Regions from separate parts of the Homo sapiens genome. Here regions 1, 2, 3 and 5 are each linked to region 4. The links are contacts of gene promoters, found by promoter capture Hi-C in blood cells and fetal thymus (Javierre and others, 2016). All regions are on one chromosome and are shown on one strand. The core of a region is centred on a gene start or on the middle of the fragment in contact, and the rest is flanking DNA. Distances in the headings are between cores, read along the strand shown. Region 1 overlaps EPB41L4A (erythrocyte membrane protein band 4.1 like 4A). Region 2 overlaps EPB41L4A (erythrocyte membrane protein band 4.1 like 4A). Region 3 overlaps EPB41L4A (erythrocyte membrane protein band 4.1 like 4A). Region 4 holds the start of EPB41L4A (erythrocyte membrane protein band 4.1 like 4A). Region 5 overlaps EPB41L4A (erythrocyte membrane protein band 4.1 like 4A).

What was found. The method cuts DNA at HindIII sites, captures the fragments that hold promoters and counts their contacts. A CHiCAGO score of 5 or more calls a contact.
Region 1: a fragment that was not itself captured here is called in contact with the fragment with the promoter of EPB41L4A in region 4 in 1 of 17 cell types (endothelial precursors); the score reaches 8.6 in endothelial precursors.
Region 2: a fragment that was not itself captured here is called in contact with the fragment with the promoter of EPB41L4A in region 4 in 5 of 17 cell types (endothelial precursors, erythroblasts, megakaryocytes and 2 more); the score reaches 20.4 in endothelial precursors.
Region 3: a contact is called between a fragment that was not itself captured here and the fragment with the promoter of EPB41L4A in region 4, in 1 of 17 cell types (endothelial precursors). The highest score is 6.2, in endothelial precursors.
Region 5: a contact is called between a fragment that was not itself captured here and the fragment with the promoter of EPB41L4A in region 4, in 5 of 17 cell types (endothelial precursors, erythroblasts, megakaryocytes and 2 more). The highest score is 12.8, in endothelial precursors.

Annotation. Positions count from the first base shown.
Region 1 is chr5:112,221,718-112,226,988 of GRCh38, reverse strand. The region is part of intron 12 of EPB41L4A (erythrocyte membrane protein band 4.1 like 4A); the gene reads left to right. Among named protein-coding and RNA genes, the nearest start is that of SNORA13, 63 kb to the right of the region's middle. The HindIII fragment of the contact is 2,862 bases long and covers 2,477-5,271 here.
Region 2 is chr5:112,202,626-112,207,674 of GRCh38, reverse strand. It overlaps EPB41L4A (erythrocyte membrane protein band 4.1 like 4A), which reads left to right. Exons shown (of 23, transcript NM_022140.5): 14 at 2,171-2,254; 15 at 3,187-3,300. Among named protein-coding and RNA genes, the nearest start is that of SNORA13, 44 kb to the right of the region's middle. The HindIII fragment of the contact is 1,034 bases long and covers 1,139-2,172 here.
Region 3 is chr5:112,241,393-112,246,487 of GRCh38, reverse strand. All of the region lies in intron 9 of EPB41L4A (erythrocyte membrane protein band 4.1 like 4A), which reads left to right. The region is part of intron 1 of LOC101927023 (a long non-coding RNA gene); the gene reads right to left. Among named protein-coding and RNA genes, the nearest start is that of SNORA13, 82 kb to the right of the region's middle. The HindIII fragment of the contact is 564 bases long and covers 2,428-2,991 here.
Region 4 is chr5:112,415,740-112,420,919 of GRCh38, reverse strand. EPB41L4A (erythrocyte membrane protein band 4.1 like 4A) reads left to right here and starts at 1,643. Exons shown (of 23, transcript NM_022140.5): 1 at 1,643-1,979. The coding sequence starts at 1,881. EPB41L4A-DT (EPB41L4A divergent transcript) reads right to left here and starts at 1,337. Exons shown (of 1, transcript NR_027706.1): 1 at 1-1,337. RefSeq lists a silencer at 889-978. The HindIII fragment of the contact is 9,034 bases long and covers 1-5,180 here.
Region 5 is chr5:112,186,090-112,191,402 of GRCh38, reverse strand. All of the region lies in intron 17 of EPB41L4A (erythrocyte membrane protein band 4.1 like 4A), which reads left to right. Among named protein-coding and RNA genes, the nearest start is that of SNORA13, 27 kb to the right of the region's middle. The HindIII fragment of the contact is 2,049 bases long and covers 1,513-3,561 here.

The sequences.
Region 1 (5,271 bases), core at 2,658-5,157, 200 kb after region 4:
TTTTTTTCATTGTGGTAAAACCATAACATTAAATTTACCATCTTAAGCATTTTAAGAGTAAGTTCAATAGTATTAAATATATTCACATTGTTGTACAACCAATCTCTAGAGTGTTTTCATCTTATGACTCTGAAACTATACCCCGTAAACACCAATTACCCCTTCCTGCTCTCCCCAGCTCTTGGTGATCGTCTTTCTACTTTGTTTCTATGATTTTGACTACTTTAGTACTTCATATAAATGGAATCATCTAGTATTTGTTCAAGCCATTTTTCTTCTCTGATTTTTTTTTTTACACCAACATCTCTACCCTCCTCTCCTCCCCACCTCAGATCTTCACTGCTCTCCAGCCCTCTTGGGATTTTCTATGACTATGAATTGGAAAGAACAAACTTCTTACAGTGTGTTCATTAACAGTGATGACATTGTGTGATAATTTTAAAGTTCACACAGTTAATCATTCCATCTTCTATGTAAGGTGGTTTCCCCTATTTGAAGTAATTAGCTGCCAGGCCTACCTGAGTGCATTTTTCATGTTAAGCAGACAATAGGAACAGAGAAGACAAAGAAAAGGCAAAGCTGAAAGGGCTCCCAGAGGGGAAGCAAAATTGTTGAATGAGGAGCGCACAGAAGCTGTGGCTCTGGATCAGGGAATTCAAAAGCAAGTCCCCAATCTCTGAGTTTGTCCAGGAAGATATTAGATCAAATACGTCACTTCTATAATATCAGCGGAACTACTCCTGTGTTGTTTGTCATCACAGAGACTGGAAACTACCTAAATATCCATTAGAAAGAAACTGGCCTAATAAAGTAATATATGTTCCCCAGCCTCTGCCCCACATGAAATACCATGTCTCTGTTACAAGAAATCTGAGAGCAGGATTGGAGCTTGTGTCAATCTGATTCCATAGTCCCACAGTATCTGCTATGAAAGGCCAGGCCCCATGAGGAGCCCACCAAAGGAGAGGAATGTCAGGACTAATGATCGCTGAGCATTACCATGTGCTTGGCACTGTGCTAGACACTCTGCAGATAGTAGCTTACTCTTTTAGAAGATGCTGTAATTCTCAATGTTTAGGTGAGAAAGCAGAGGCTGAGACTTGTACAGAGTCACAAAGCTGAGATATGAACACAGGTCAGTTACAGTCTACAATATAGAGACGAAAGACTAAGAAAGAATGTGTTACATTTGTATGTACAGATACGAAATGATCTCCAGGATATGGTATATAAATGGTGGGGGCAGAGAAGCAGAGGGGCCCGGTAGTATTTAATGTGTTACCATTATATACAAAGACAAATTGGGTGGGAAAGTATGCATGCAGATAATACTTGCAGGCAGGATACATTAGAAACTAGTAACAGTAGTGGCCTTTGGGAAGCGTTTCTGAGAGAATGGGGATTGGCAGTGGGAGAGAGATTTATTTTCATTTGAATTTTTACCAAGCACTTTTCAAAAGCCCTACAGATTACTGTCATGAATGCATGAAGTTCACAAATGCTCATCCACATTTCCAATAGAGACATTCTCAATAAGCTCAGAGCTGAGACATTGTTCTTACCCTAGATCATTGTGATTTACAGAGAAAGAGCAATATAAGATCAATTGTACAAAACTCAAATGTTAGGAATTTCTCCTGTGTTATAGCAGACACAACCAGAGTCTTCAAGGAGAGGGGCATAAGTCCAGGATTAAAGTACATAAGATGGCATATAAGTCCTCAAGCCAGAGGGTGCTCCATTTCATGAGGAAGACTCATGGTATAGAGTCTTTGGATTAAATGAAGTAGAGGACGCTTTGTGTTTTTCACCCAAAGAAGTGATGATTTGCAGGTGTAGCAAGTTCTAGAATGTGGAGGATGTCTGGATGAGAATCACTTAGCAAGGAGGAATGTTTGGGAAAAGAGAGGGTAAAGAAACTGGGAAAAGACAGTAACATAATAATAGCTCTCACATCTATCCGGCCTTTGACGGGTATTGTGAAGTTTTTGTTTATTTCTTCTGGGTCAGAAAAAGGAAGAAGTTAGTATAAATTTTCATACAAAAGGGTTAGAACAAGACATTCTGACCTAGAATTGTTATATGGGTGGCTATGGAGATGATTTCTGAAAATATGGTGGAGGAGCTTTGTTTTGGCAAAAGTGTGATTGTGGCTCTTCTTTTCCAAGTGCACAGATCAGAATTAGACCATTGACTGAGTTATGGTCCAAGTCTGTGGTCCCTCCCTCTCTCCTTTGTAAGAACCTCTGCTCTGAGGGATGTTTAAATTACCTCTTGACTGATTATTTAAGCCATTTAATTGAGAAGCGACTTAGTGGGGTGGTAGGGGAGCTTAAAAAAAAGAGTGTGAAAGTTGTACCTGATTTGAGTAGCCCTGAATTCCTGGTCTGCCTTGGTTGTGACCTGTAACTTGTCATTCAGCATTCTCAGCTTTCATCCCTTTATCCATAAAATACAATAATTGGGTATGTAAGCTTTAAAGATTCCTCTTCTTTCTAAAATTCCTTTATTCTGTCTGACTTACCTGCCCACAGAGTTGGAAGGACCAAATATGAAAAATAGATACAGTGGAATTTTAGAAAGTTTTTTTTTTAAGTATATGGGTTTTTACCATTTCAAAAGTCTTGCAAAGTTGTGAAAAAGATCTTCCCAGATTATAAAATGTAGTTTTGCCATTGGAAATACACAGTACTTTTTGTGTTTGGAAAAACCTTCTAGCCAATTCTTTAAAACATCTCAGGCTGGATGCGGTGGCTTACACCTGTAATCCCAGCACTTTGGGAGGCTGAGGTGGGTGGATCACAAGGTCAGGAGTGTAAGACCAGCCTGGCCAACGTGGTGAAACCCTGTCTCTACTAAAAATACAAAAATTAGCCGGACGCAGTGGCAGGCGCCTGTAATCCCAGCTACTCAGGAGGCTGAGGCAGAAGAATCGCTTGAACCTGCGGGGCGGAGGCTGCAATGAGCCGAGATCGCGCCACTGCACTCCAGTATGGGTGACAGAGTAAGACTCCGTCTCAAAAGAAAAAAGCCTAAAGTTCAAATGAAACTCTTATTGACAAATTGAATAAAGTTAACTTTAACCATGGCTCTATTACAGTTTAAAAATTATTCTTTTAGTCCAAACTGACGAGATGAATATGAGATTTTGCCTGTTTGGTTAACTCATAGTTAAAAAGTGCTGTCTTTCTGGGTAAAAATAAAAAGAAGACATTCCTTCTTAGAAAGTTTTTGCATAGCTTTGTCTCTGCCTTTGAGTTGTGTGTGAACACAACCTTAGACTAGTCGTTTCTTGAACCTGCTCCTTCTTTTGGAAGTCAGCAGTGGGAATTGGCTCTACCTCGGCAGTTGTTTGTTGTTGCAATTCTTGATTTTACTAATGCATTGGGCAAATTTACCTGTTTTTTTACCCCTCCTGTTCTTGACAGGTGGGGGCTGGAGGGTGTGTCTGTCAGCGGTTTGGGATTCTGTTTTGGGGATAGATATTCCTGAGTAGATGGCATCTGAGGATTCCACACCTTTGCTTTACTATCAGAATTCATTGTTCTGAGGTGATGGTTTCTATGCCAGTATTTTCTTCAGACTTTGAAAACTCTGGGATTGATTTTTTTATTGGCTCTGTTTGGCCATAAGTTACTCATTACTTATTAATATCAATGTTAAAGATTTTGGGGGTTCTCAGAGTTCAGGGTTATTTTGGTAGGTTATAGGGAGAGATAGGTGAGGTAAAGAAGAAAGAAACTACTTTCGGTCGGGCACGGTGGCTCAATCCTGTAATTCCAGCACTTTGGGAGGCCAAGGCGGGCAGATCACCAGAGGTCAGGAGTTCAAGACCAGCCTGGCCAACATGACGAAACCCTGTCTCTACTAAAAATACAAAAGCTAGCTGGACATGGTTGGTGTGTACCTGTAGTCCTAGCTACTTGGAAGGCTGAGGCACAAGAATCGCTTGAACCCGGGAGGCAGAGGTTGCAAGCAGGGATTGTGCCACTGCACTCCAGCCTGGGCGACAGAGCCAGACTCCATCTTAAAAAAAAAAAAAAAAACTAGTTTCACTTGTGGAGCAGGTGCCCTGCTTGGCCCTTGGGTCACTGGCACTGTGCTGGTCTTTGGAGCAGGAGTCCAGAAGGGGTGGAGGAAGAGCCCTCTGTAACAGTGGACTTGCTCCTCTCTTCTCTCCTGGGGTAAGAATGGGGCCTCTGAGGAAACCGCCCAGATTCCTTCTCCAGAAAAGATGATGTGCAGTCCAGCAGATGAGTCAGTTATCTGGGGACAACCAAGCCTTTTGGGGCTGCTTTACGGTCCAGGTACCAGGTACAGCTTTGAACAGAGAAGCTGGTTTGCAGAGAAAGAAGAATGGAGTTGGCTCACTGTGAGAATCACACAGCTTTGAGAAGAGAGGGGAAGGGAGGCTTAGTAGCTATGAACTGAAGTCTGTGAGATCCTGTTGTGCATTCACCATGAATTCCTTTCTAATTTGAGCTGATTTCCTTGCATGAAAACAGTGGATAACATTACTGGGTATAACCCTTTCAGTATCCCCATGAGAAAGATGGGTGGTAGTCTCATCTTACTGATGAGGAAACTGAGGCATGGAAACATTAAGTACTTGTTTGAGATTACACAGGCAGTAAGCGCAAAGCCAGGATCCTAACCCAGGTCTTTGGGATACTATGGTACATGCTTGGAAAGTAAATGGAAGTTAAGAAAGGTGAAAGGTCTAGAATGATTTGAAAATATACAACTTCTGTTTTTTCCCCATGTGTGATTTCTTCAGTAGCTCTAACTTGTTTTCAACAAATACTCTTGAGAAGACCATACATTCTGCTCATTTATAGTCAGAGTCAGCCTACTTTTACTTTAAGCCATTTTTAGAAGAAAATGTGTAAGTTCTTTGGGGCATCTTACCTAGCCAAGAGAGAGGGGGAAAGGCAGTAACTGTTAATTGCAAGGAGCATTAGGTAGACCATATAGTCAGGTGTATGTTTGTTGCAGGCTGTTAGCCTTTGTTGGCATCCTTTTCTATTCTGCCTTGAAACTTAGGCTTATTTTCCATCTGTAAAAGATTTATTAATGTATGGCGAGTCTGGTTAGATTTTCTCTAAAAAGTTAATGTTTTCAGTCTTCTTGGGAGTGTTTAGCATTCCAAACATAGCTACGAAAATTAGAAAAGCAAGCAAAATGAAAGGGCTATTATATATTCAAGTTAAAATCACAGCTTTAGTGAGTTACCATAAATGACACCTTTTTTCTTTTTCTTCTTATTCAACA
Region 2 (5,049 bases), core at 406-2,905, 210 kb after region 4:
CATTTTTTCATGTATTTGTTGGTTGCATGTATGTCTTCTTTGGAAAAGTGCCTGTTGATGTCCTTTGCCCATTTTTTAATGGCATTGTTTGTTTCATCTTGTTGAATTGTTGAAGTTCCTTATAGATTCTGGATATTAGACCTTTGTCAGATACATAGTTTGTGAATATTTTCTCCTTTTCTGTAGATTGTCTGTTTACTCTGTTGATAGTTTCTTTTGTTGTGCAGAAGCTCTTTAAAGTCTCACTTGTCAATTTTTGGTTTTGTTGCAATTGCTTTTGGGGACTTAGTTATAAATTCTTCACCAAGGCTGATGTCCAGAATGATATTTCCTAGGTTTTCTTCTAAGATGTATTTTCATAGTTTGAGGTCTTACATTTAAGTTCTTAATCTATCTTGAGTGGATTTTTGAATATAGTAAAAGGAAGAGGTCCAGTTTCACTCTTCTGCATATGACTGGCCATCCCAGCACCATTTAGGGAGTCCTTTCCCCATTGCTTGTTCTAGTTGCTTTTGTTGAAGATCAGATGGTTGTAGGTGTATGACTTTGTTTCTGGGTTCTCTATCCTATTGCATTGGTCTTTTTGTCAGTTTTTGTACCATACCATGCTGTTTTTGTTACTGTAGCCTTGTAGTACAGTTTGAAGTCAGGTAGTGTGATGCCTCCAGCTTTGTTCTTTCTGCTTAGAATTGCTTTGGCTGTTTGGGCTTTTTTGGAGGGAGGGTCCATTTTAGAATAGTTCTTTCCTGTGAAAAAATGATGTTGGTAGTTTGATAGGAATAGCATTGCATCTGTATATTGCTTTGGGCTGTATGGCCATTTTAACAATATTTTTCAATCCCCTTTGCAACCACATTCCTGTGATGATACTGGTACTTGAAGCACCACCAAAGTTTTCCTCTCAAGCTTCAGATGAGAAATACCTTAGGGTGTGAATGCAATTAACTTGTCACCCAGGATTTTATTATTCTTTAACTTTTGTATACTCTCTCAGTTCCTCTTTTATCTCCCTATTTCTTTTCCAGTCTCCCTTCTCCCTTCTCTTTGCTTTTTCTGATTTATTGATCCCATACACTTTCTACTATCGTATTAAATATCTGCCATATTTGTTAATTTTCATCATTTCAAAAGGTAAGCTTTTACTTTGGGAATTGAATCTGTAGAGGTTTTTAGCCTTTATAAAAATAATAAACTAAGCTGCCATCTACTAATACTATGGGTTATATGCCTCTGTCAGATACAAAATTTTATAGGCTTACTTTAATTCCATCATGGATAGTATACTAGGGTGCAAGTCTTTTTTTTTTTTTAATACCTCGTCATCTTTCCTCTCTCCTCTTTGTTGGCTGTTACAAAGTACTCCTCTATGACCCTATCCTAGGACAGTTATACAGAGGATTCCTCAAAAAGCCAGGGTTAAAAGTGGATTTGGAGTTAAATAGCTCTATCTTTATCTTAAGCTAAGACTCCTGAGGATGTGAGAGGTGACACACCCCTCCCCACTGGTGCCTGGAGGCTTCTGATTAGTCCCTTCCTCCATGTCTCCCCAGGGGTTTCTAAAACAATTTGTTGAGGGTAGAACAACTCAGTTACATTTACATTCTTAGGACTGAAAGATGATACTAGGTCAGGAAATAGCATTTGAAAGTCATTCTCATCTGGAGGGATGAAGCCAAGATAAGGCGGAAGCCAGGAAAAGGTCAGTTTGAATAGCCTGAACCTGCCCGGGGCTGACCGACCTGTGTGGATTCAGACCCGTGCCTGGAGTAAGGGCTTCTCTGATCACTGTTGTAAAAAGGGAGCCAGGCTGAAGATCCTGGGTAGCCCAGGTCCTTCCTCCTTGGCTTTCTTATTTTCTTGGCTCTGTGGTTCCCCTTGCTGCCTCTCCTGCAGGTGGACTCTAGAGTTTCTTAACAATTGATGGACCTGGCATCTGTTGACTAAAGCAGTAAAACTAGAAAGAAAGAGGGGGGAAAGACCCAAAGGTACTTGCTGGAGACAGATTTTATGGGCAGCGACTTCATGTTCTTTTTAGAGTCACAGGTATAAACAAGCAAATAAGTGTGCACATCTTAACATTTGTTAAAAAGTTTTACTTAACAAATAAGTATGTGAGTTTACTTTTATTTTCTACTTAATTTATTTCTCATACTTTTTTTTAAAATTAAAGCTTTAAGAAAGCAAAGAATGAAAATAGCCCTGATACCCAAAGAAGCAAATCTCATGCACCGTGGGAAGAAAATGGCCCCCAGAGGTAAAGGGAATCATTGTTTTTATAAAGGAGACAGTAGAAAAGGGGTTAGTACATGCAGCTCATTGAATAAAGGAATCCAGCTGCTGGGTGGCTGATCACAGCTAGCTGTGGATAAAGTGGGCAGACTCTAAATCAATGTGACCCAGGGGAGAGGGGCTGGGATTTCTGAAGTGGAAATCAACAGTATGTTTTATAACATGAAACTTTTTCCTGGAAAGGCAAAAGGGAAACCTAGGAAATATTATGAAATTGCCTGTAAGGTAATATATTTCTGAAAACTCTAAATGGCATATTAATAATTTTCCCCATTTCATAGTTTTGGTTAAAAACTTAAGTCAAAAACTATAGCTGATGAATAGTTATGCTGGAAGACCTTTATTCCTAAAAATATGGATATGTCTAGTGTATCTCTGGTCACAACTACCAAACCAGTGACAGACCTGTGTTGTAACTTATAGTTCAAATTCTAGCCCTGCCACTTCCTAGCTACTTTATTTGGGCCACTTAATTAAGTAGTCTATATTTCAATTTTTTTTCTGTTTAATAGGTTTAATAGTTGTATCTCAGTGCTGAAGGCTGATATGAAGATTAGCTGAGATAATGAATGTAAAGTCTTTAGCTGAGTCAGTGTTTAGAAAGGGCTAAATTCATCATATGTATGAATTGTTATTGTTATTTGTGTGTGTTCATTTTTTACTACTGAAGGCTAGTGAGACAAATGGCATTCCTGCAAAATAATGACCTTTATGATTTGATTTGCCAGATCTTACCTCTTTTCTTTTAATAAATCTTGTCAGCAAAGAGAACCACGTGCCCCTGGTGCATGTGCCTCTGGAAGTACCAGCTGTGCAGTTATGAATAGGTCTGGGCTGCGGTGTGTTTTCCCCCAGGAACTCTCTGGGCTCTTTTTGACCATTTTTCTTTCTCTCCAGTGGACTCTACAATTCTCCCAGTGATCGCACTAAGTCGCCAAAGTTCCCTTACACGCGTCGCCGAAACCCCTCCTGTGGAAGTGACAATGATTCTGTACAGCCTGTGAGGAGGAGGTAAGCGGAACACAATCTCTCTGTTAGCAGCTTTCAACAGAAGCATTTTGTCCCAGGCCTGACTTTATAATAGGTGATTCTTATACCGACATTACTGTTTCTCTCCAAGATAACAAGCAGCTTACTCTTTTTGACATAAAATAAGTTAGGAATCCTGAAGTATTTATCGTAAACAGCCAGAGTTTTAGAGAATAATTTCATAAAATATTGGCAGGAACTTGCTTTCTGTATTCTATTTATGAATAATGTGTCTAAAAATAGTATATAATATATAATAAAAATATGTATTATATATAGTATATTACAAAGTAGAGACAGTATATCTTTTTTTTTTTGAGACGGAGTTTCACTCTTGTTGCCTAGGCTGGAGTGCAGTGGCACGATCTCAGCTCACTGCAACCTCCGCCTCCTGGGTTCAGGCGATTCTCCTGCCTCAGCCTCCCCAGTAGCTGAGATTACAGGCATGTGCTGCCACGCCCGGCTGATTTTTTTGTATTTTTAGTAGGGGTTTTTCCATGTTGGTCAGGCTGGTCTCGAACTCCCAACCTCAGGTGATCCACCCGCCTCGGCCTCCCAAAGTGCTGGGATTACAGGTGTAAGCCACTGCGCCCAGACGAGATAGTATATGTTAATATATAAAACATATTAAGTGTTTCTACCTGAGAAGACAAAACTACACTTAAAGATAAGCCTTTTTAGCTGAAAAACGCCTTTTAAAGCACAGAAAAAAATGAATCCTGTTACATTTTACCTATACGGGTAGAGTGTTTGAAGGGATAATATTTGTGTGTGTATGCTTAATTTAAAAAGTTCTTAGCTGGAAGTTTTGGACCTCTCTGCAAAGCAGGCTGGGCAGTGTGACAGGTACAAGAGAGGAAGATGTAGAAATGACTCATCAGTGAAATTCTTTTCACTCCTACATGGCAGGGACTGTGTTTTATTTTGAGTACCTACATAATTGGCATTGTATAAATGACTTTTTCCTTTTTTTGGTTTTTGTGGTTTTTGTTTTTGTTTTTGAGATGGAGTCTCGCTCTGATGCCCAGGCTGGAGTGTAGTGGCATGATCTTGGCTCACTGCAAACTCTGCCCCCTGGGTTCGAGCGATTCTCCTGCCTCAGCCCCCTGAGTAGCTGGGATTACAGGCATGCGCCATCAGGCCCGGCTAATTTTTTTATTTTTAGTAGGGATAGGGTTTCTCCACGTTGGTCTCGAACTCCTGACCTCGTGATCCCTCTGCCTCAGCCTCCCAAAATGCTGGGATTACAGGCATGAGTCACCGCGCCCGGCCTCTTTTTCCTTTTTTAAAAAAATAAAAATGTATAAATTAAAGTAGAGATGGGGTCTCACTTGTTATGTTGCCCAGGCTGGTCTTGAATTCCTAGCCTCAAGCAGTCCTCCCACCTCAGTCTCCCAAATTGCTGGGATTACAGGCATGAGTCACTGCACCCAGCCTAAATGACTTTTATACTTACAAGAAGTTTCAGTTCATGATGTCAGGTAACCATCAAGACTCTTTTTGTGCACACTGCAGGTTTGGAAGCCAAGCCCTTCTTTCACCTATGCCCTAGTTAATACACACTTGCTGGCCTTTTCCTGCTTGATCCCTTTTGCTTCTGCTAGTTTCCCAGAGCTTTGCCCCCAGCTTTCTGAAACCAAGTTCAACTTCACTGAAATCCTTTGATGGTTAAGAAGAGAAGGGTCTATATTACCTTCATGTAGTAGGACTGACATGAGGGTGCTAGATCAG
Region 3 (5,095 bases), core at 1,460-3,959, 180 kb after region 4:
TCCCTTTAGCTAAATGAGTTTGGGGTCCCCAAATTTAATTTCCTTTCACAATACCTAGGCTATACAGTATAGCCTATTGCTCTCAGGCTGCCAACCTGTACAGCATGTTACTGTACTGAATACTGCAGGCAATTGGAACACTATGGTAAGTATTTATGTATCCAAACACATCTAAACACAGAAAAGGCACAGTTAAAATACGTTTTATAATCTTAAGGAACCGCTGTTGTATATGCGATCCATCATTGACCAAGACATCCTTATACAACGCATGACTGGATATTTAAAAAAAGAAAACTAAAAGAAAAAAAAATTTCTCCCTAAGGGCTCCTATCTTCTGACAAAAGCCTGGGCTTTCCCTCCCTGCCCGGAGGAGCTTCTGTGATTTTCTGTGTGTCCCCTTTCCCAGCTCTGCCACCAGTTTCTTTTGCTGCTAAGGAAAACACTTTCTGAATTCATTGACTTTTCTTCCTCACCTCTAATTGTATAATCCCTATCCCTTTCACAAAGGCCTCGGAAGATTTCTTACCGTGAAATGTGGTAACCTCCTTTCAAACTCGATTTGACTTTTCTGGGTCACTTGAGAGTTGCACTCTCTCTTCCCAGCCTCTCTGACACTCTTTTCTGGTATGTTTGGACCTCTCTCACTCCACCTTCAGGAGCGTCTTTGCAGTGATTCCACCTTCATCCATTCTGCGCACTCTCCCTGAGCAGTCTTGTTCACTTGGTGAGATCACCTGTGTGAGTAGATGTGCCCTCTCTCTGGCTCTCTGACCTGCATCCTTTGGCCCTCTAGGTGTCCCATGGGACCTCAAAATCAGAATATTTCAACCTGAACTTATTGTCTATTCCCTTGTCATCCAAATGCCCATTTTTTCCACTTGCTATATTTTAGTAGCACCCGAGCCAGAAACCTGAAAATGTTCCTTTCTTTTTTTACCAGACAAGGTTTTGGAATTACAGATAGCCTTGCTGTAATGTGTGCATGTTGGCTTTGTTTCCATCACATCTCTTCATCTTACAAATAAACTCCTAAGTTGGGCAGCATCATTCAAGTTGGACTTGGGAGAAATTTTATACATATAAATATTCTGTCCTTATTAAAAGTAGGAGACAAATCATTTCAATTATTCTTTTGCATTGATTGTTTTATGTTTATGAGTCCGTAGAAACCTCATTTCAGAGGCATTTGCTGCATTTGAGACTTGAGTTTGGTTTGTAGCTTTGAAATTAAATTAGCAAGTATATAACTTCACAGAGCTTGTGGTTTATTGTGTTAGCATTCATATTGTGTTTTGCTTAGTTTTCTGTTCAGTTACTTAAAATATAAATAGTATTTTCTGCAAAATTAGAATTACAGGCATATCTTTTTTTTTTTTTTGCACTTCACTTTATTGTGCTTTGCAGATACTGTGTTTTTTTTACAAATTGAAGATTTGTGGCAACCCTGTCAATCTGTTGGTAGCATTTTTCCAAAAGCACATGCTCACTTCGTGTCACTGTGTCACATTTTGGTAATTCTTGCAATAGTATTTCAAACTTTTTCATTATTATTACATACGTTATAATGATACAGGAGCTAAGAAGGAATTAGGTAGATAACAAGGGCACGGGCGCTTGATAAGGCTCTACTTTCTAATGAAAAGCAGTCCTGAATCATTTTCTAACAAAGAGCACCCTGCAAGCTAGGAGCTTGCACAGGTGGGTGCCAGCAGGAACTAAGGACTAGACATTTTCAAAATGGTGGGTCCATCTTCCCTTCTCTGCCAGCCACACATACTATAAAGGAGCAGACAAGATGGCGCAGATCAACTGGAAAGCCTATTTGCATAAGAAGATTACGGTAGGGTGACCAGCCTTCCCCGCACACTATGTAGACATCATATCTGATGAAACCAATCTGTGAGCCCTATATAAATCAGACACCGCCTTCTGCAGCCTGCCTATAAAATCTGCTGTGGTCCATGGCCTCCCAGCCTTTTTCAGACGTCTCTTTCTCTTTCTCAGGGAGCTGCCCTCCTCCCTCCTTTCTTCTCTCTATTAAACTTTCCACCCCTTAACCCACCTGAATTCTTTCTCAATGCGTGACAATGAACCCCAAGGTATATACCCCAGACAGTGTAGCCACTTCAATAGTGATCTGTGATCAGTGATCTTTGATGTTACTGTTGCAATTGATTTGGGGTGCCACAAACTGCATCTATGTAAGATAGCGATCTTAATTGATAAATGATGCATGTGTTCTGACTGCTCCACAGACTGGCCATTCCCTGTCTCTCTCCCTGTCCTTAGGCCTCCCTAGTTTCCAAGAAACAGTAATATTGAAACTAGGTCAGTTAATAACCCTACAATAACCTCTAAGGGTTCAACTGAAAGGAATAGTTGTGCATCTGTGATTTGAAATCAAATGCTAGAAATGATTAAGCTTAGTGAGGAAGTCATCTTAAAGGGTGAGATAGGCTGAAAGCTAGGCCTCTTGTGCCAGTTAGCCAAGTTGTGAATGCAAAGAAAAAATTCTTGAAGGAAATTTGGAGAGCTACTGTAGTGAACACAAAAATAATAAGAAACAAAACAGTCTTACTGCTAATTTGGAGAAAGTTCGAATGGTCTGGATAGAAGATCCAACAAGCTGCAGCATTTCCTTAAACCAAAGTCTGTAATCCAGAGAAAGGCTCTAACTCTCTTCAATTCTGTGAAGTCTAAGAGAGGTGAGGAAACTGCAGAATAAAAGTAGGAAGCTAGCAGAGGTTGGTTCATTAGGTTGAAGGACAGTAGCCATCTCGATAACATAAAAAGTACAAGGTGAAGCAGCAAGTACTGATTTAGAAGCTGCAGCAAGTAATCCAGAAGATCTAGCTAAGATTATTGATGAAAGTGGCTACACTAAACAACAGATTTTCAGTGGAGACAAAACAACCTTCTTCTGTTGGAAGAAGATGCCATCTAGGACTTTCATAGCTATAACGAGAAGTCAATGCCTGCATTAAAGCTTCCGAGGACAGGGTGACTGTCTCTTTAGGTGCTACTGCAGCTGGTGACTTTAAGTTGAAGCCAATATTCATTTACCATTCAGAAAATTCTGGGTTCTATACAAATGATGCTAACTGTACTCTGTGCTCTATAAATGGAAAAACAAAGCCTGGATGACAGCACACCTATTTACAGCATGGCTTAGGAAACAAACAAACAAACAAAATATATATATATATATACACACACATATATATATGTGTGTGTGTGTATATATACATAGATATATATATATATATTTTCGAGACAGAGTCTCATTCTTATCACCCAGGCTGGAATGCAGTGGCACGATCTCGGCTCACTGCAACCTCTGCCTCCCGGATTCAAGCCATTCTCCTGTCTCAGCCTCCGAAATAGCTGGGATTACAGGCGCCTGCCACCATGCCCAGCTAATTTCTGTATTTTTAGTAGAGATGTGGTTTCGCCATGTTGGCCAGGCTGGTCTTGAACTCCTGACCTCAGGTGATCCGCCTGCCTCAGCTCCCCAAAGTGCTGGGATTACAGGCATGAGCCACCACTCCTGGGCCGGCTTAGTGAATATATTAAGCCCAATGTTGATATCTACTGCTCAGAAAAAAAAGGATTCCTTTCAAAATATTACTATTCATTGACAGTGCACCTAGTTACTCTAGAGCTATCATGGAGATGTACAAGGAGATTAATGTTGCTTTCAAGCCTGCTATCACAGTATCTGTTCTGCAACCCATGGATCAAGAGGTAACTTCAACTTTCAAGTATTAAGAAATACTTTCTACAAACTATAGATGCGATAGATAATGATTTCTCTAATGGATCTGGACAAACAAAGTGAAAAACTTCTGGAAAATATTCACCATTCTGGATGCCCCTAAGATAATTTATGATTTATGGCAGGAGGTCAAATTATTCTGATTAGCAGGAGTTTGAAAGAAGATGATTTCTACCCCCACGATGACTTTGAGGGGTCCAAGACTTCAGTGAAGGAAGTAACTGCAGATGCGGTAGAAATAGCAAGAAAACTAGAATTAGAAGTGAAGCCTGATGGTATAACTTAATTGCTGCAATCCCATGATAAAACTTGAAGGAATAAGGAGTTGCTTCTTATGAATGAACAAAAGTGGTTCTTGAGTTGGAATCTACTCCTGGTGAAGATGCTGTGAACATTTTTAAAATGACAACAAAGGATTTAAAATATTACACAAACTTAATTGATAAAGTAGTGGTAGGGTTTGAGAAGATTAACTCCAAGTTTGAAAGAAGTTCTACTGTGGGTCAAATGCTATCAAACAATATCACGTGCTGCAGAGAAATCTTTCTTCAATGGAAGAGTCCATTAACACAGAAAGCTTCATTGTTGTCTCATTTTAAGAAATTGATATAGCCACTCTAACCTTCAGCAACTACCACCCTGGTCAGTCAGTAGCCATCAACATTGAGGCAGTACCTTCCACCAACCAAAAGATTATGACTTCCTGAAGGCTCAGATGACTTTTACCATTTTTCACCAATGAAGTATTTTTAAATTATAGTATATATGTTTTTTTAAGACCTAATGCTGTTATATACTTAATAGACTACAGTGTAATGTAAGCAACTTTTACCTGCTCTAGGAAGCCAAAAAATATGTGCAACTCACTTTATTGCAATATTCACTTTATTGCAGTAGTCTGCAGCTGAACCTATAGTATCTCCAAGGTATGCTTGTACAGTTGTTCCTCAGCATCCACAGGGTATTGGTTTCAGAAACCTTCCTCCCAAATCCGAGAATGCTCAAATTCCTTATATAAATGGCATGGTATTTGCATATAACCTACACACATTCTCCCATATACTTTAAGTCATTTTTAGATTACTTATGATTCCTAATCTAAGTGCTATGTAAATAGTTGTTATGCTCTATTGCTTTTTAAATTTGTATTATTTTTTCTGAATATTTTTGATTCAAGTTTGGCTAACTTGTGTATGTGGAACCTGTGGATATAGAGGGCTGATTTGTACCTTCAATGTTGTTTTATTTCTTACTTATTAAATATAGAGAATCAAATAACTACTGGATTAAAATAATTAGCATGTATTATACACCTAT
Region 4 (5,180 bases), core at 394-2,893:
CTTTGGCGGTTATGCTGATCCTGTGTTTGGATGGGGTCACAATAGCAGGGAAGGCCGAGGCTTCCTACAGAAGGTCCTTTGTGGCAAATCACTATGAGAGGAAACTCCATCAAAAGTCGCCAATTGTTCATTTCATTTCTACTGTGCTACGGAAGCCTGGTTTTGTTTTAAGGGCTAACGTCCTAGGTTTTAAGCAATTTTTTTTGAGCTTTGGCTACCCAGCTAACAAGCAGTAGAATAGTCAACTCAAAACTACGTCTGATGCCAAAGCTCTAACTCTAAAACTCAATATAGAGTTTTTTTTCTGTGACACCTCCCCTCGTGTCTCCCCTAACTGCGACTCGCATTAACTCGCTGCTGGTTCCCAGCTGGAGAGCACAGATTGCACCTGCTCCGAAGCCCAGCGGGGCTCAGTGTCGTCCGCAGCTCAACCTCGGCTGCCTGTGCACGGACATCGGGACCCACCAGGGGTCACTGCAGCTTCAGAGCTATTGTGCCCCTCAGTCCTGGACGCGGCCGACCGCGCGGAGGGCGTGGGATTGGGACCGCCGAACCGTGGGGTCCGAGCAGCACCGCGTCCTCTTCTCCCCACCCAGCCTCCAGGTCTCTCGGGGGAAGGACGCAGCGAGCGCTGGACTGCCCCGCGGCTTGGGCGCAGTGTGCGGCTTGGCAGCGTGGACTCGCCGGCACCTCGCCGCTGGGACCACGGTCTCTGCCCCGCCCTCCGCCCCCAGCTGATACCCCGCCCAGAAGGGGCTCCCCTGCCGCGGCCAGCGCTGGACTGGGGGGTCCGCTTCGTTCCAGGGCTTTTTGCAGACGCCTGGACCGGGCCCACATGCACCTGGGCTGCTCCCGCCCGGGGCGCCACCACTCGCGCGGCCAAGAGAACTTTCCCCGGAGCCTCTGCGGCCTGGCGCGCCCAGGGCGCACCCCCCGCTCGCCCGTCCGCCGCGTTCCCAGCTGGGGCGTCGCTCCTCCGCCCGCAGGTCCCCGCCTCCCCGCTTTGCTGAATGTCCTGAAGAAGCCGTATTCCGCCGCCGCGGCAGGCATTCCCGGAGGGAGAGCTTGAACTTGGCTACACACGGCCACCCGTAATGAGCTCGGGAGTCCCCGGACGGGAGCCACACCCCGCGACGAGCTGACCTCCCCTCGCTGGTCTGGGTAAGGAGCCTGCTGCCCTTTCCGCCTCTCTTCCGGCTCCTCGGCGCTTGCGGCTGGGGGACGGGGTAGCGGACGGAGCGACGACCTTCGCCTCTGCCCCTGCGCCCATGGTCGGGGCGTCGTGGGTGCTCCTCACACAAAAGAAAAGCCGAGCGCTTCATACTCGGCGGATCTGACCCGGGGCTGCGGGGCGGGGTCGCGGCTGGAAGTGCGCGCCCGCGGGGGACTCCGCAGGCCGATCGGACGCCAGGACGTCGGGGCCGCGCTCAAATCCGTGCGGCAGGAGGGAGGTGCAGCGCTTCCAGGGTTTTCCAAGGCCGGGGAGAGCCTCGAATTCCCATCACTCCTTTTTCTGGTCTCTTGCCCCCAGTGCCAGGAGACTTTTGTCGTCCCCAGGACTGCGGGAGGGGCCCCGCGCCCCCGCCTTCGGAGGAGCTCGAGCCGCAGGATGCGCGGGGACGCGCCACCGCCCTCCGCGCCCAGTTCCGCCGGCGCTTCCCCGGCGGCTCCCGGGCGCTGACTCTCCCGGGCTTTTCCGCCTTTCTCGCTCCCGCCCCGCCGGGCGGTTCGGCGGCCGGTCCCCGGACCCCGCCGGGAGCTGCTCGTCTCACCCTCGCCACGGCGCGGACAATAAATTAATGCATCGCGCTTGAGTGGAGGGGGCGGCTGGGCGCCTCGGTGGTAGCTTTCTCTCCTGGCTGGAGACGACCACAACCGACATGGGCTGTTTCTGCGCTGTTCCGGAAGAATTTTACTGCGAAGTTTTGCTCCTGGATGAATCCAAGTTAACCCTTACCACCCAGCAGCAGGGCATCAAGGTGGGTGCGGCCCGGAGCGCGTTCCGGGGGTTGGCGGCAGGGCGGGTGCGGGGGTCCATCGCTTTGAGGGCTGTCACCGGTGGGTCGAGGGCGGCGGCCGCGACTCTGCGCGGTGGGGAGGAGAGGCCGCTGTCCCCTGCGCGCAGGGAGAGGGTGGACGTACCAGGGTGAGTTAACTTTGAGTTCCTTCATAAAGCAAAGTTGAGTTTGACGTTTCTAAGTTTACTCAGCACACCGGCTCCCAGCAGCACCCCAAAACTCTTCCCCAAACCGGTTTTCTCCAAAAGCCTCTGGGTGCCCCGCAGCTCTCAAAGAGGGGCAGAATGGGTTATACCAGCTGCGTCCCACCAGTGTGGAAGGCATGGTTTCCCTCGACTTTGTTGAAGGCGTTTTCCTTGACAGTGTTATTAGGGAAGTGAACTAGTTCACTCGTTGAAACGCATTAATGGGTCATTGTGATTGTTTTGCGTGGGTTCGTAGTTGGGTAATGCTACGTTTGGACGGAAAATATTTTCCCTTTCTACAGCGACCTGGGTTTATCCTCACATTTAAGTAAACATCTCTCAAAGCGACCCAGTAATAACTTTGCTCCTGTTTGTGGGTCATTAAAATGCAATCACTACATTAACCTAGAGAGCCCAAACAAAAAGGCAGCAGAGCTCGCAGAGATCCTCTTCCTTACATTGGATGAGAAGGTACGTATGTTTGTAGTGACAACCTGACCGACGCGCCTGCGTGCTTGTTTTGCTTTTGCAACAGTGTTAACTACCTAAAGGAGATCTAAATCCGGAGCGTTTTGTTGTTTTGTTTATCTTTCTCTTTCAGTTTTAGATCGCTAAGGCATTTTAGATAAGGCAACAGCTGAGTCTGGTGAAGGGAAACCGCCCCCCCGCCCCCGCTCTGATAGAGCTGGCTTTCTGAGAAATCGAGTTCAGGCTGCCAAGTATCCTCTCTTAGTCGCTTCATCTCAGAAGTTAATCATAATGGGGTAGGCCCTGGGCATTTCCTTTTGTGAATCAGTTTTTACATAGTTTTATGCACACTAGGATAACTATTCCTGGCTAAAAGTTTCAGCGTTAATGTTGCCATTCTTAGTGTACAGAATTCCAGTTTCATAGGTGTAATTCTTTTGCGGGAGAAAGGAGCAAAAATAATCAGTTAAAGCTACAAGATTGTTAACCCTTTCCTTTAGGAGGTTGTTTTGAATATTGTTTCCCCAGTAATTATACTGAGCAAAATTCAGTTCGATTCTCATTCGGTATTTCCTTTCAAGACCAATAAAATAGACTCTTTTCGGGGAGGGTGTACATTTTGTATTTTTAACTTTTCTTTATGTTCCAAAATATTTCTCCTCTCACCCGCCCAATGAAATCAGGAAAATATTGTAACTTACAAGATGATGTAACATTCTTTGGTGTACTGTATGAATAAAATAGGCAAAAATCACAAAAACATCCTAAATTGTAGATAATATATAGATTCTTGTGTCGAGATAGAAACAATTAGAAAAAGGTAACTGATGATCAGATACTAAGACAGTAAAGAAATCTTTTTGAAGTGCAAAGTCTAAATTATCTGGAGTCTAAAGTCATCTGGAATGTGAGCTTCCTATTTAATCATCAAAGTCATGCCTATCAGCTGTAGAGCGTGTACATTATTCTGTCAAGAGAGCAGCCAGGACTTGGGATCAAATGGAATAATTTTGTCAAAGAAACATGAATCAAAAATCCTGATCCATAATTATTTTTTATAATCCAGTGGTGCTTATCTTGTTTTACAAATGGGCTGAAAATTGGTGAGTGATTCAAAGGCAACAGCAACTATGTAATACTGTTACTTTGGATATGGGCCATATAACTAAACAATAATTTAAGCAGGCTGTTGTTGGAAATAATCATTTAACAACAGGCTTGGCCTCTGTCCTTGTCACAAAAGCATGCCACAATTATTTTGATGGCCATGTGTGTAACACAGATGTTGTCTGCTAAAGCTAATCACATTATCTTCTATGCTACCTTAAAAGTGTATGTGTTAAACACCTACCCACCCTTGGCGTGTACTAAATTAAATATATTTGCATATTTATAAATGGTGTGTATAAAAAAACTTGCATGTAGAGGTATTCAAACATTGGATGAACATGTTTATGTTCTGTACATACTTGACATTTTAAAAAACTTTTTCCTAACCTTCCTGTATTATGGTGCATAGGTACAATTGATGTGTGTTGCATTAATTACTTAAAATTAACTCCTACTTTAGTTTGTAAATGAAAAAGTAAACAGTTACTTCAAAGTTAATAGCCAGTAGCTACCATTATGGTGTTTTTCCTTGAGATAGTATACTTAGTAATTTTGATTACCACTAATTAAAGTCAAAATTAAGCAGGCAACATCAATTAGCCTACTGTTCTCTGAAATTAACTAGAAAAATCTCTATTTTTCAAAAGCATTTCCTAACATTTATTTTGTGATTATCCTTTTTCCTATTCTATCTTAGATGAAGATGGCTAATTTTACATTAAAATTATGCACACATTTCATCTCTTAGTAGAAATAATTTTACTGATTCCTAAATGGTTACTTGAGAATTTGCTTGTATTATTGTTACAGTAATGCACTGTGAATTAGAAAAGATTAATTATAGCAAGTTAAGGTGGAAGAAATATGAGAGAATCTTGGTAAACATTTTTTCTGTGTATCATTTTGAAAAACATTCTTTGGATTTATTTAAGCACCAAATTACAAATAGAAAAGTTAGTTTTGAAGTGATTTTTCTTCAACTTAGATAAAGTTTTTCATCGATGTTAGAAAAAAAATTAATGTGTCATCATGAAAAGTGTTTCAGCCTGAAGACAACAGTTACTCATCTTATATGGTAAGATGAATATCAGTTAAATGGAAAATAATTTTATTTCCATTTAATTTCCATTTAAATGGAAAATAATTTTCTGTTAAAAAAAAAATACCAGAAAAATAAAACACAGTATCTTTGCATCCCTGTTAATGTTACGGAGGTATTTGCCTTTTTTACTTGCTTTAGGGGCAACCTCACCTTGATAGCAGAAAGTCTTATTCATGCAGTTCACAGTTTGAACCTTATCCGAGATTTAAAAACTCAAGTTTACATAAGCTGAGAGCTATTGGTTGTGTGTTGAGCCCTACAATAGCTTTTAGCTGTTTGTCTTTTGCTGCTATCTGT
Region 5 (5,313 bases), core at 1,288-3,787, 230 kb after region 4:
TTGTTGTTTAGTTTCAATTTTAGGAAAATATAACTGTAAATAACCACCCCATCTGTCTGTCCCCTTTGGGTCCAGAGCTAACAAGGCTCTGTGTGTAAGGGCCCTTGTGTTAATTGTGCCCTAACTGTAGGGCTTCATCCTACCGTGTTTCCTAGAACACCAGAGTAATTCACCCTGCTTCTTTATTTGGGACATCGTTTATGTTTTCCCTTACCCCTTTCCACTTTATTCTTTCTTTACTGTTCTCATAATCCGGTTGGGTATCCTACAGCTTTCTAGGTTTTGAGATTTGAGATGATAATTTTTCACTCTCTTTTTATAACCAGATAGAAGTTGGAGGCACAGTTTTTTTTAATAATATTTAAGATGACAGAAAGTTCTTATTTCTCCTTTTAGTTTCTCTACTACATCCTCATCTCCCTCTCCATTCTCTTGCTTCACTTTTCACTTTTTATATCATATTATTCTCACCCAGTTCCTTTCTGTTTCCTGGGCTTCCTTTCCAGTCTTTTTTCTTTCTTCTGTTTCCTTTGAATTCCCTCTCTCCCTAGGAGCCAATGGTATGACACAGAATAACCTGAGGACTTGGGACTGGGTCTTGGTTTTGCTGTGTGCTGATACTTGACCTTGGGCAACTTGTATAACCAATTCAAGTATTAGTTTTTTTCTCTTTAAAGTTGGCAGGGAGTGGGGGGAGGTATGCTATAACAACTGATCCATTTTGTTGAATGAGTTACTGTAAAGATCAAATGAAATGTAAGAAGTGAGAGCACTTTGAAGTACAGAGCCACGTAGTCCTATACCCACTTCCAGAGTTACTCACTGCTACGGCATCTCCTGTCCTCTCCTCCATCCTCTTCCAACTTTTCTTTTGGTCCTATGTTTCATTTTCCCACCTTTCCTAACTTTATACCTTTGGTTATTTTTACACCAGGATTCTTAACTTGTGATTCATGGGTAGGTGCTGGGGGTTTCATAACCCCATGAAATTGTATGTAAAATTGTATGTGGGCGTCAAGTGCGTAGTTTTCTAAAGATAGGGTCTGTAGTTTTTATCAGATTCATAAGGGGGTGTTTATGTAACACCCCCCCCTTAAAACTTACAAAGTTTTATCATCTAAATAGTGAAGGATTACATTGTTACTGGGAAATGAAATTGGTGTTTCAATTCACTGGTAGGATTAAAAACTAAAATGCCTAAACTTTCTTTAGAGATTACTTTGCTATACTAATTTGTGAAACAGTTGATTCTATTGAATTCTTGAAGTTGGGAACCTACCTAGTACAAGGCACTATAAAGTTAATCTACATGAATATTAGATTCTATTAGTTAGAATTTTGAATCTCGTCCCTGAGATCAGAAGGGCCAGCAGCTCGCTTATTGCTGTAGGTTTGAGACCATGGGCCATGTGCTGGACTTGCCCAGGGTGTAGGATGAAGGAGGACCTCGCAAGTAGACTTAGGAGAGTGAAACCTTTGATGAACTAGCTTTACCTGGATATGTCTTAAGCTTAATAAAATATCCTTGACATTCAAGGAAAAGGTTCTACAAAATATCCTTTGTGCTATTGATGAAAATCAGCAGTCCTTTGAGCATTCACTGAGGAGAATCTTTGAATTACTCATTCATTCATTACCTTTGATGTGTTTCTAGGCTCTTAGAAGTTTGGAAGTGGGAGATGTGGAGGAGTGGGTGACATGAGATAGTCTGGTGCGTTTTTTTCCATCAGCATAAAAGTAGAAATAACTTGGGAGCCTACCAAGTATTAAAACAGAGAAACGAGAGCAGCTTAGGGTAATAGTAGAACTAGAGGAAATTGACAACAGGGGACTATTTGAACGTTTCCCTAATTTTATTCTAGGATGTTTGCATCATAAACATGAGTCATGTACGTCAGTGTCAGGCTGCATGTTTGTGTACATATATATGTACATGCAAATCTGGGAGCCTGTACTATGAAATTGAACCCACTTTGAAGAATTCTGTGGCTTTGAGCTGGTTACTTTATCCTGTGAATCTTCATTTCTCACATGCAAAGTGGAATAATACCTGACCTGCCTACCTCACTAGAGGTTTGTGAAGTTCCCGAGATAATAGATGTGCTTTGAAAAGTAGAAAGTGCCCTGCACAGGCAAGTTCTGTTAAATTGATAACATCCAGCACTGCTCAGTATTTTCTGAAGTTCCTGCAGGATCTGTAAAATGGGGACCAGCTCCCTTGAACAAGAAATAAGTCAGTGTTTTCTAACATGAGTTTGTTCTGGCATGAATGTTGCTAGTTTCTCCCTAACAACATTGGGGTCTTTTAGATGTCTTTTAGGGTCTACCAGATGTCTACAGTATCTAAATAGTAGATTAAGACAGATTTAAATATTTTAATTATGTTCCATAAGGTCTTTTATATTGTTTTTCTAAAATGAGGAAGCACATTTCTGTGTGAGAAATTTGGCACTGTAAGAGGGACAATATATCTGACTAGGGCAAATCTAGAAGATCACAATTTTGGTAGGATTTTGTTTTGGGAGTGGTAAAGAAGAACTTTATTGTCCCTGTACCCTAGGGAAAAAATATATTTGGGATGTTAGCAAACTTAAACTGATGGGCATTTCTTCCGTCTTGCTTGAAAATAGGTAACCGCTTCCTTGCCAGGAACTGCCTACTGTCCTGCCCCTGATTTAGGGGCTGCAAACGAGGTAAAAATTTTGGGTACGGAGAGAAGAGTTCGTACAAAGCTAGTGGAAACAGTGTTCACCGTACTGCAGATGCAAGGGTTTCTGATTTCTACTTTAATAGGATATATCAAGATTTAGACATTTGATATGGTTGATTTAGGGCTTCCAGAGTATAATCAAGGTTGGCAGAGATGACTGTGGAAGGACAAAGCCGCAGCAACTGAGGAATGCTGTTACATTACTGAGTGAGGGCAAAATAGGTTAAAAATTCATGAAAACAGGAGAGTTTGAAAGGGAAATTGCGCCAGAGGTAGCCCATTGTAGTAGTGGGCACGTAAGGAATAAGTGGAAGAGACAGAAGTACCTTTAAGAGCAAATAAGAATAATTTATTGATGGTAGAGACAATGGGAAAAGCAAATGAACTTTTTGCTTGCTGGTCTTAAGGGAGTATGTCGACACATGCCTGGAACCAACATACATTTCCCTAGGGAAGAAAAACTAGAAAAAAAAAAGATTGCTTTATAGCAGGTGATCCAAAAAAAATGAGTACAGTTGATGAGAAACACAAGTTCACAATCAGTTGGGGCCTGCAGATTTAATTTTGGCAATGGAGGGGCCATGTGAAGCAATTGTCTGGAATGTTATGCTATAGTTGAAGAGTGTAAGTTTCTTTCAGTGTGTCTGTCTGGTTTGGAAATAAAATACAAATAGAGAAACATCAAGTTTTAAAGCTAGAAAGGATCTTTGCCATAATTTTATATATGAACAACCTGAGACTTGACCAAAAAAGATAAGCAGTTTGTCCAAGGTCTCTGAGTCAGATAATGGCAGAGCTGGGAATGGAGAAAACTCAGGAGCAATGTTTATGGCTTGTATCATCTTGAAGCTTCATTTTACATTCTCTCTGAAAGACTTCTTAGATTCAGCATTAAGCATGGTGTTTATCTCAGTGAATTAGAAGTGAATTAAGAACTTATGTAAAGAAAGGTTCTGTTAGGAGCAAAACTGCTAAAGGGAGAGGACACAATAAAACTCGGGGATTTGTGTAAGAATTCATTGGTAATGTGAAGAATTTTGCAAAAGAGGAAGGACTGTAATTGGTAAGACAGGAAAGAAGAGGCTAGGAATAGTCATTTTCTTCATTGTTATCAAATGATTATATGGCATTTCATCTTCAAAACCTTTGCAGACCTTAATTAAATGTCAAATGCAGTTAAAATCTAAATTGTATGGATAGTCTGGAAAAGTAGAGTGTTGAAGTTTGGTAAGAGATGGAAGAAATACATTAGAATTCTGTTCTGAAACATGGTTAGAATTTGCTGTATTCTAAAGCAACCCTCTCCCTTATACATTAACTGAAAAACAAAAACCTTGTTATGATATACTTCCTACCACAGTTGTTGACCCTCCATAGTTACAGATGGAGAAATTGACAAAATAGGATAAATGTAGACTTATTGGATCAATTAGTACTGGAAATAAATGTTTGTTAGTTTATTGAGGTTCACCTTTAGATGCAACATTTGAAAATTAATAGATCCACAACATAAATGACAACGGACTCTTTTTCCTTTTTGAGACTTTGATGACTATGATGTAAGAGCACATTTTGACTTTTTAAAAGGTACTATGTCAAAACAATGTTTGTGGTATTTTATTCTTCATGATGTAAATCTATACATCGAGATTAAAATAGAGCAGGAAAGGAGCAAAAAACTATTTGGATCCCCCATACCTGAGAATAAATGAGACTTAAAAAGTCAGAATTATCACAGTAAACATATCTTTTTCATTTAAAGATTTCTTTATTCACTCATGCATAAACAAAATAGTTACTCCTGCCTCTTAAGGACAAAGTGCTACAATATTCTTGCTTCTAGGGCTAGGATTTTTTTCTTTCCAAGTAGCACCTGTGTTTTTTGGAGCGGTTCAGCAGTGGAAGAAATGACACTTTCATTCTTGTAATGAGGCACCATTAACTAGAGGTCTTTTGTAAGGATGTAATTTCAAACTTCATTACAGGCCAAGGCCGCCACACTACCCATTACTCAGGAAAATGTGCTTCTGTTGTGACTCTCCAAAGGCTCTTACATTTTTAATGCATCTTGTTAGAATATTTATGAAACAGCATCGCCAGTAGAGGGCATCTGTCTTTGAAACATGTGGATCACAAGGATATTAACTGACAGGGTTTCACTGCCCTCACTTTAGACTTTTCAGTTAGAAAAAAAGGTAAAGGTACATGTATAATCTTGAATTCTTTCTGATTTGGTCCTTATTACTATTATAGCAGGATACAGGAAATACGCATGCTTATGTCTCAGGAGTTTTAATTTTTTATCATCAGAGTGAAGTCTGAGTATGAGGGTAGCCAGCTGAATTCCACAATAGATGAGAATGAACATACAGTAACTGTGCTTCCTTTTCAGTGTCTGTTACTCTAGGAAAAGTATGTGTTTGCCCAAGTTAGGCCTCAGCTTTGTTAGCAGGTTTGACCTCTCAAAAATATTTAGACGCCCCGACTTCCTGACACAAACATTTCACATTGTAAAATTTCGTTCTGCCCATCAACTGGACAGTGATTTTGTTCAGAATGAAAGCTGCATCCTAAAAGACTCCAGGGTTAGGAGTTAGGAGACC